Regions from separate parts of the Homo sapiens genome. Here regions 2 and 3 are each linked to region 1. The links are contacts of gene promoters, found by promoter capture Hi-C in blood cells and fetal thymus (Javierre and others, 2016). All regions are on one chromosome and are shown on one strand. Each heading gives the region's core, a stretch centred on a gene start or on the middle of the fragment in contact. The rest is flanking DNA. Distances are from core to core; before and after follow the strand shown.

The links. Contacts are between HindIII fragments. The CHiCAGO score rates a contact against its expected background, and 5 or more counts as called.
Region 2: a contact is called between a fragment that was not itself captured here and the fragment with the promoter of NCAPH in region 1, in 4 of 17 cell types (naive CD8 T cells, naive B cells, naive CD4 T cells and 1 more). The highest score is 6.7, in naive CD8 T cells.
Region 3: a contact is called between a fragment that was not itself captured here and the fragment with the promoter of NCAPH in region 1, in 6 of 17 cell types (naive CD4 T cells, naive CD8 T cells, total CD8 T cells and 3 more). The highest score is 7.3, in naive CD4 T cells.

The regions. Positions count from the first base shown.
Region 1 is chr2:96,334,461-96,337,157 of GRCh38, reverse strand. NCAPH (non-SMC condensin I complex subunit H) reads right to left here and starts at 1,392. Exons shown (of 18, transcript NM_015341.5): 1 at 1,310-1,392. The coding sequence starts at 1,328. RefSeq lists enhancers at 236-1,077, 1,078-1,919 and a silencer at 998-1,317. The HindIII fragment of the contact is 5,174 bases long and covers 610-2,697 here.
Region 2 is chr2:96,707,474-96,710,170 of GRCh38, reverse strand. It overlaps LMAN2L (lectin, mannose binding 2 like), which reads left to right. Exons shown (of 8, transcript NM_030805.4): 7 at 2,338-2,457. Among named protein-coding and RNA genes, the nearest start is that of LMAN2L, 31 kb to the left of the region's middle. The HindIII fragment of the contact is 5,025 bases long and covers 1-2,697 here.
Region 3 is chr2:96,597,062-96,599,758 of GRCh38, reverse strand. The region is part of intron 20 of KANSL3 (KAT8 regulatory NSL complex subunit 3); the gene reads left to right. Among named protein-coding and RNA genes, the nearest start is that of KANSL3, 40 kb to the left of the region's middle. The HindIII fragment of the contact is 1,892 bases long and covers 372-2,263 here.

The DNA of each region.
Region 1 (2,697 bases), core at 143-2,642:
ATATTATGCATCCATTCATTCAACCGATGGTTACTGAGCTCAAAGACACTTCCTATGTCTACTTCCTCATTTCCCACTCATTTTTCAACCCACTCTGGTCTGGTTCCTATTCCAACTTCATGAGAACTATCTTTTCGTGATCATCTATAACTTCCATGTTGCCTAAACCCTATGGTCATTTTCTGGCCTTTCTCTTGGAATCCAGCAGCATTTGAAACAGCTGACAGTCCCTTCCTTGTTGAAACACTCTTGGCTTCTTCCTATACCACTGTCTTTTGAGTTTTTCCAGCTCATCCTTCTCTATCCAGCTTCTAAACGTTGGTCCTAGATGTGCAGGGCCTTCCTAGTGTTCTCACCTGTTCCCATGGTTTTATGGTCTAATGGTCTATATGATAATGGTATCCAAATTTATTTCTCAATCCATGGGTCACTTCCCTGAGTGGTCCATATAACTCCCCTGAGAGCCAAATTCTCACCTAAGTGATTATAGATCCCTTCACCTGAGTCTCTCCCGTAAGTCACACATACCATGTCCAAAATGTAACTCAATTTCCAAATCTCTTACCCAAGGCCTCCAGACCCTGCCTACGTGTCAGGCCTCACTAAGCTTGGTCACAATGTTCTGGTCAGGTCCTAGGCCAGGCCAGGCTCTTCCCTGCCTCATTTTTGTACTTGCTCCTTCTGCCTGAAACACGTTCCCTAGTATCTGCCTAAAGATCTTCCCTGAACCCCTGGCGGAGCCACCCCTACTCTGCTATACTCAATCACAGCACTCAGCCTCATGTGTAATTATTTCTTTTGTTTACTGTCTGTCTCCCCAACTCCAACAGTATAGAGATATTATCAATTTTGTTCGCCCAACGGGAGAGCTCAGTACTTTTGAATAGATGCAAAAATAAATGCATGCATGCTAAGCATACAACGGTAACCACATCGCTTCCAAAGCCCTGAAAATAACGTCTATTCCAGGAAAACCACCATTTTAATGGAGAGACACCGAGCACGCTTTAGGAGCCCAAGGAGGAGGCCGCCCCACCGCCCGCCCGGGAACTGAGGAGTGTGAGGCAGGGCCCGCGCGCTCTCCGACTCCGGCCGAAGCCGCTTTCTGATTGGCTGAGCGCACAAGGTCCGCCCGCCCCGCGCCGGCCCTCCCCTCCCCCCGCACCGGCCTCTGCTGTCAGCCGCAGGGCCAAGACCCGAGCTGAGCATATCCTCTCTCCCCGCCCAGGCCAGCCCGCCAGCCCTGCCCGCCCGAAGTACTGCTTCGCTAGGGGCCCTTCCCGCCGCGCCTCCCGACCGCCCGGCTCACCTGGGCCGGGAGGTCCCATCTTTCCTTGGCGTCTCCTGAGCTGGTTTTAAATCGCGCGCGTCGAGACGCCTGAGCGCCGTAACGGCCGCGTGACGTCGCCGGCGGGCCGGGCCAGCAGCGCGCCTGCGCAGACCACCTCGGGCCTCCGCGGGCGGCGTCAGAGTGAGTTTTGGGTTGAGGACCCCGTCTGATTGGGCTTCTTGGGGTCGGTGGACCCCCTGAAATAGTATGAAAACCCCCTCCTTCGAGGACTAGGTGCAGGACTGGGCTTGGGAACCCAGCGTCGAGCAGGGTGAGCAAGGCCCGTCTTTCGTGGAATTTACTTTCTTTTTTTTTTTTTTTTGGGACGAAGTCTAGCTCTTGTCCCCCAGACTGGAGTGCAGTGGCGCGATCTTGGCTCACTGCAACCTCCGCCTCCTGGGTTAAAGCGATTCTCCTGCCTCAGCCTCCCGAGTAGCTGGGATTACAGGCGCCTGCCACCACGCCTGGCCAATTTTTGTGTTTTTAGTAGAGACGGGGTTTCACCATGTTGGCCAGGCTGGTCTCGAACTCCTGACCTCAGGTGATCCGCCCACCTCGGCCTCCCGAAGTGCTGGGATTACAGGCGTGAGCCACCGCGCTCAGCCCGTGGAATTTACTTTATAATGGGGAGGCAGATGATCGAGAAAACGAGGTTTATTTCCCTTAGAGATCTGTGCTGTGTGGGCAGCAAAACGCTGAAAACCTCCGGGAAGAGGGACGGAGGGGAGCGGGAGCCTACGTGGGAATGAGGAGCGGTCCAGGTGGGGAAGAACTGATGCAGAAATGCTATGTATACATTAAATATAGTACAAAATGTACATTTAATATAGTGTAAGATGAAGGCCATCGTTTTATTCAGATTCTTGTGAATAGCTTCCTGTGAACACCCCCCACCCTTCAAAAAATAAATAAAGGTCGAAAAAGCGAAATAAGCATAAAATGCCATCTGTCCCCTCAGTTTCATCTAACCCTAAGGATTGAATTATGGGAGTAAAGGCCAGGGTGATTCCCTGGAATATCCCCAGCACATCCTAGAATTTCTTGTAACTCTCATATCTGGCATCTTTTACAGTGTTTCTCTTCAAGGGCACTGTTGGCATTCAGGGTGAAACAATCCTTGGCATGATAGGATGTTTGCCCTCTTTGTGGGCTCTTAAGCCCCCGTAACATCATTTGCCCACTAAATGCCATCAGTGCTGTCGCTCATTTTGGCAATCAAAAAGTGCCACCCTTTGTTGAAAACCACTTTTTTTTTTTTTTTTTTTGAGACAGAGTCTTGCTTTGTTGCCCAGGCTGGAGTGCAATGGCACGATCTCAGCTCACTGCAACCTCCACCTCCCAAGTTCAAGCGATTCTCCTGCCTCAGC
Region 2 (2,697 bases), core at 131-2,630, 370 kb before region 1:
TTCCTCCCCTTCTTGGATTCCAGGCAACCATTGATCTGCTTTCTGTCATGCAGAGAGATTAGTTTTGGCAATTAGGTTCTAAGTACCGAGCAGGCCAGACCTGTGGGAAAAATTTAGTCTCGGCAGGGGGATAGGAGGCATAGGCTGGAGATCTTTGCTATATAATCTCATTATATGACTACACATTTTCCTTTGAGCTTACAGGTTTCTGGGTTAACCTCCTGACGTACTTTTTAATGGAAAGTCCCCAACTGTCAGAAATGGCAGGGGAGAATAATTTTTTGTTTAGTCTAAGTTTTTTGCCCTAGGTCTTTAGTGAGAATACCCAAGTTAGTAAGTCTGTGTTCTCTGCCCATAGGGTATCCCTAAATGCAAGTTGTTTCTTTCTTTTGAGGTCTTTCTTGTTGCCATCCTCTTACTTGTTGTATAGTAGGTTGTTGAAAACTGCTGAGAAAGTTAGGATGTTTCCCAGCCGTTCCAGGCTTTAATGCCCTGCATTGCATGAGGAGCATTGCCCTGGCCTTTTATCCTGTCCCATGGTTTAAACTGAGCTCTGACAGTTAACATTTTTCCAACAGAAGATGAATCCAGTTTTTCACTACCTGGGAATCTGCTAAAGATTCTAGCAGTCCAAGCAGCTGTGGATGCTCTCCTTATAAATGACCAGAAATCCAGGCCCCAGTCAGTAACCAACCTAGTAGCAATGAGCACCCCTAGCACTCAGATTTGTGGTCTCTAAATACCAATTCCCCCTAAAAGGAACTGCAGCTTCCTTGAGAAATGGCTGATGCAGGGTTTGAGGTAGGAAATCTATAAGTTGGAACTTCCCAGAAAAGCAAGGAAGTTATAAAAAACTTCTGGGTTTATGTAAAGAGACGCAGGAGCCAAACTGAATAGGCTCCTACTTGACAAAGACAGGTGAGTTGAGCATCAATAAGAATCTAACTTCAGGCCAGGCGCGGTGGCTCACGCCTGTAATGCCAGCACTTTGGGAGGCCACGGCAGGTGGATCACCTGAGGTTGGGAGTTCGAGACCAGCCTGACCAACATGGAGAAACCCCATCTCTACTAAAAAAAAAATACAAAAAATTAGCCGGGCGTGGTGGTGCATGCCTGTAATCCCAGCTACTTGGGAGGCTGAGGCAGGGGAATTGCTTGAACCTGGGAGGCAGAGGTTGCAGTGAGCCGAGATCGTGCCATTGCACTCCAGCCTGGGCAACAAGAGCAAAACTCTGTCTCAAAAAAAAAAAAAAAAAAAAAAAGTCTAACTTCAGTGCATTGCAACACATCAGATATGGTTAAATGTAGGAGTTTATAATGATACTTTAAAGAGAGAAATCTAGTCCCTAATTGCTTGATCTTCTCTCTGGTAATTATTAGGGAGATTAAGAGTCACAAGTACAAGAAGCCACAGAGAAACAGGCATAGTCTAGAAGGGCAGTGTATCCCATGCCCATAGCTGTGCCCTGCCCATGGCCCATTAAACAGCGGCCATGAGACCTTTTCCTGTTGTACGTGTGTGTGTGTGCACGTGTGTGGTCTTCACCAGCGGGGAAGCTGCAGTCCTACTTTGTCTGTTCTTACTGTGCTGGAAGGTTTAACATATGGGATTTAATTGTGGTTTTATCTCCAAATTTTTTAATTATACAGATGCGTCTTGACATACAATGGCGTTATGTCCCAATAAACTCATTGTAGGTTGTAGATATTGTAAGTTGAAAATGCATTCAATACACCTACCCTACTGAACATCATAGCTTAGCCTAGTCTACCTTAAATGTGCTTAGAACATTTACATTAGCCTACAGTTGGGCAAAATCATCTAACACAAAGCCTATTCTGTAACAAAGTGTTGAATGTCTGATGTAACGTATGGAATACAGTACACGATGCAGTACTGGTTGTTTACCCTTGTGATTGTGTGGCTCACTGGGAGCTACAGCTCACTGCTGCTGCCCAGCCTCAGTACAGAGTGTTGTACTACACATCGCTAGCCTGGGAAAAGATCAAAACTCAAATTTTGAAGTATGGTTTCTGCTAAGCGCAGATTACTTTCACACCATCATAAAGTTGGAAAATTGTAAGTCGAACCATTTTAAGTCAGCGATCTTCTATACAGGTAATGCATGCTTGTTGATAAAAACTTAAATACAGAAGATATAGAATATGCCTTGTTCCCCATCCTTATTTTTAGTTGCAAAATGGAGAGGTTTCAATTATTTTTTCAAGGTCACTGCTGGTTAGCTGTGGATCAGAGGCTTGAACTAAGATACTGACTTCAAGAAACATACCTCTTTTTCAAGTGGCACAAGTCATCCTTCTTCCATTTTTCTTCAGATAATCATGATGTCATTTCCTTGAAGTTGTTTGAACTGACAGTGGAGAGAACCCCAGAAGAGGAAAAGCTCCATCGAGATGTGTTCTTGCCCTCAGTGGACAATATGAAGCTGCCTGAGAGTGAGCACAGGGGCCCGCGGGAAATGGTCCCATAGTTGGGGAGGAGCTTGCAGTGCTGTACCCATAGCTCACAGGGCGGTCTCTGCTCTGTGTTCTTCTTCTGAAGGGTAGGGAGCACTTTCATCTGCCTTTCCCCTTCAAGTTACAGATGAGCAGCAGGAGGGCCGCTTTGTTTCTCAGTTGGAAAGAGGGGGTCTAAGCTCTGGCTTCCCAGAAGTAGGTGTCAGAAACTGGGGGCCG
Region 3 (2,697 bases), core at 68-2,567, 260 kb before region 1:
GTCTTTTATGAAATGTTTGTCATACTCTTTGAATTATAGTGGCTTTGTATATTCAGATGTTAAATCTTTATCTGTTACACAAATTACATATATGTTATTCCTGTCAGTGGCTCATATTTTTTTTTCTTTCTATTGAAGCATTCATTGAATGTCAGTCAGTCTTTTAACTTTTATTTCTAGATCATACAGCCATTTAAATGTTTCATATAGTAAAATCTTCAAATATTTTCCTTTATAGCTCCAAAGTTTTATGCCTTAAGAAAGCTAGCCCTATCACAAGAATATAAAAGTAATCCTTTTTGTTTTTAAAATTTGAATTGTGGTAAAACATATATAACATACAATGTACCATTTTAGCCATGTTTCAAGCTTACAGTTCAGTAGCATTGAGCACATTCACATTGTGGTACAGCCATCACCACCATCCATCTCCAGAACTTTTCTGTCATCCCATATTGAAACTCTCTCTTTGTGTTTTCTTATAATGCTTTTGCTTGTTTCCTTTAATTCCTTATAGTTCACTTTTGTATGTTAAGTGAGGTAAGGATGAGTCCATTCATCATTCCTCCACTCATCTAAAATCCACTGCTGTCACATTCTAAAGTACTGAACACATATGGGCCTGTTCTGTAGTTTTGAATTTGTCTATCCTACGCTGGCCTTCTGTTATGGGTTGATAGTATGGATCTTGAAGTTAAGGGAGTGTCAATTCTGTTTCTAGTTTGCTAAGATAATCTTCATTCTTTTCCTTTCTCATGATAGTTTTGAATTTTTTCCATTATTCTTTTAGAATCACATGAAATGAATGAGGATAAACATTTCCTTTTTTTTTTTTTTTTTTTTTTTTTTTGAGACAGTCTCACTCTTGTCACCCAGGCTGGAGTGCAGTGGCACGATCTCAGCTCACTGCAACCTCTGCCTGCCAAGTTCAAGCTATTCTCTTGCCTCAGCCTCCTGAGTAGCTGGGACTATAGGCTCATGCCACCACCCTCAGCTAATTTTTCTATTTTTAGTAGAGACAGGGTTTCACCATGTTGTCCAGGCTTGTCTTGAACTCCTGACCTCAAGTGATCCACCCACCTTGGCCTCCCAAAGTGTTGGGATTACAGGCGTGAGCCATCATGTCCGGCCAACGTTTCCTTCTAATCAGTTAAAATGATGAGTTACTTTAATAGGTTTCCTAATATCAAACTGTGTGAATTCTAGATGCAGTGGCTTTTTCAGTGTGTCCTATTCTTTTTATTATACATACAAAGGCAACAAGACCCTATCAAAAGAACGAAATGAAAAAAGAAAGAAGCTAAGCATTTCAAAAGAAAAGCATGTCTATTCTATTTGCTTTTATTTTACTTAGGATTTTGGCGTCTATATTAATCTCCTCAGGCTTTGGCCCATAGTTTTCTTCCCCTCCACCCCCTACTTCTGTGTGTGTGCTTTCCTTTGTCTAGTTATGTAAAAGGGGTAATTCAATCCTTGTAGAATGAGATGGGAAGTGCTTTTCCCCTCTCATACTCTAAAACAGTTTTATAGTACAGAAATGATAGTTCCTTGATGGGTTGATAGAAGTGACCTACAAAGCCATTTGGGCCTGTTTTTAGGGTGTCTTCGTTTGCTGATGCCATGTTGATGGACAACTAGAACACAGATCCTGCCACGTGATCCCTTCCTCCTGTGTTAGGTAATCCGTCTCAGCTTGCCATGGCCTGGGCCAGCCAGTTACCATTGAGAAGAGAGTAGAGGTCATTGAGAATCCCCCTTTTCTGGAGCTCAGTTGAAGCACAGAATAAAGATCAAGGTCTGGCCTTCTAACTGATGATGTTAACATGAGATTAGTTTTCATCTTAATAGAATGGACGTAGGCTGGGCATGGTGGTTCACGCCTGTAATCCCAGCACTTTGAGAGACCTAGGCGGGTGGATCACGAGGTCAAGAGATCGAAACCATCTTGACCAAAATGGTGAAACCCCATCTCTACTAAAAATACAAAAATTAGCTGGATGTGGTGGCGTGCACCTGTAATCCCAGCTACTTGGGAGGCTGAGGCAGGAGTATTGCTTGAACCTGGGAGGCGGAGGTTGCAGTGAGCTGAGATTGTACCATTGCACTCCAGCCTGGGCAACAGAGCCAGACTCTGTCTCAAAAAAATAAAATAAATAAATAAAATAAAGTGGATATGTAATTGCTAGGAGGAGTCAGGTGGTGATTCTTTTCCAACAAGCAAGGGGATGTTATTAGATTAAGGCTTCTTGCTGATTCAGAAGCTTCTAATAGCTCTGTTCAGATTGCCAGACAGAGCACTGGACTATGGGTCAGGTCATCTGTTTTCAGCCAGCTGTGTGATCCTGGGCAAATCACCTATCCTTCTGGGCTTTGGTTTTCTTACCTGGTTTAGAGAGGAAGTTGACTTAATTCAGTGACTGTTGTGGTGGCAGGATCAGAATCTCCTCAGGCTTTGGAAACCGACGTTTTTTAATGCTTAGAAACAAACTACCCATTTTTTTGACATTTATGAGGCAATTGGAAATTTTAACACTGACTGGATAGTTGTTGATATTACGGAATTGTTAACCTTTTTAATGTGTGATAATGGTATTGTTAGGATTTTAAAACAGTCATTTTTTATTTTGGGGTTCCATACTGCAATATTTTTGGATGGAATGAATTTAAAAAGAAAAGTGAACACCAACTAGACTTCTC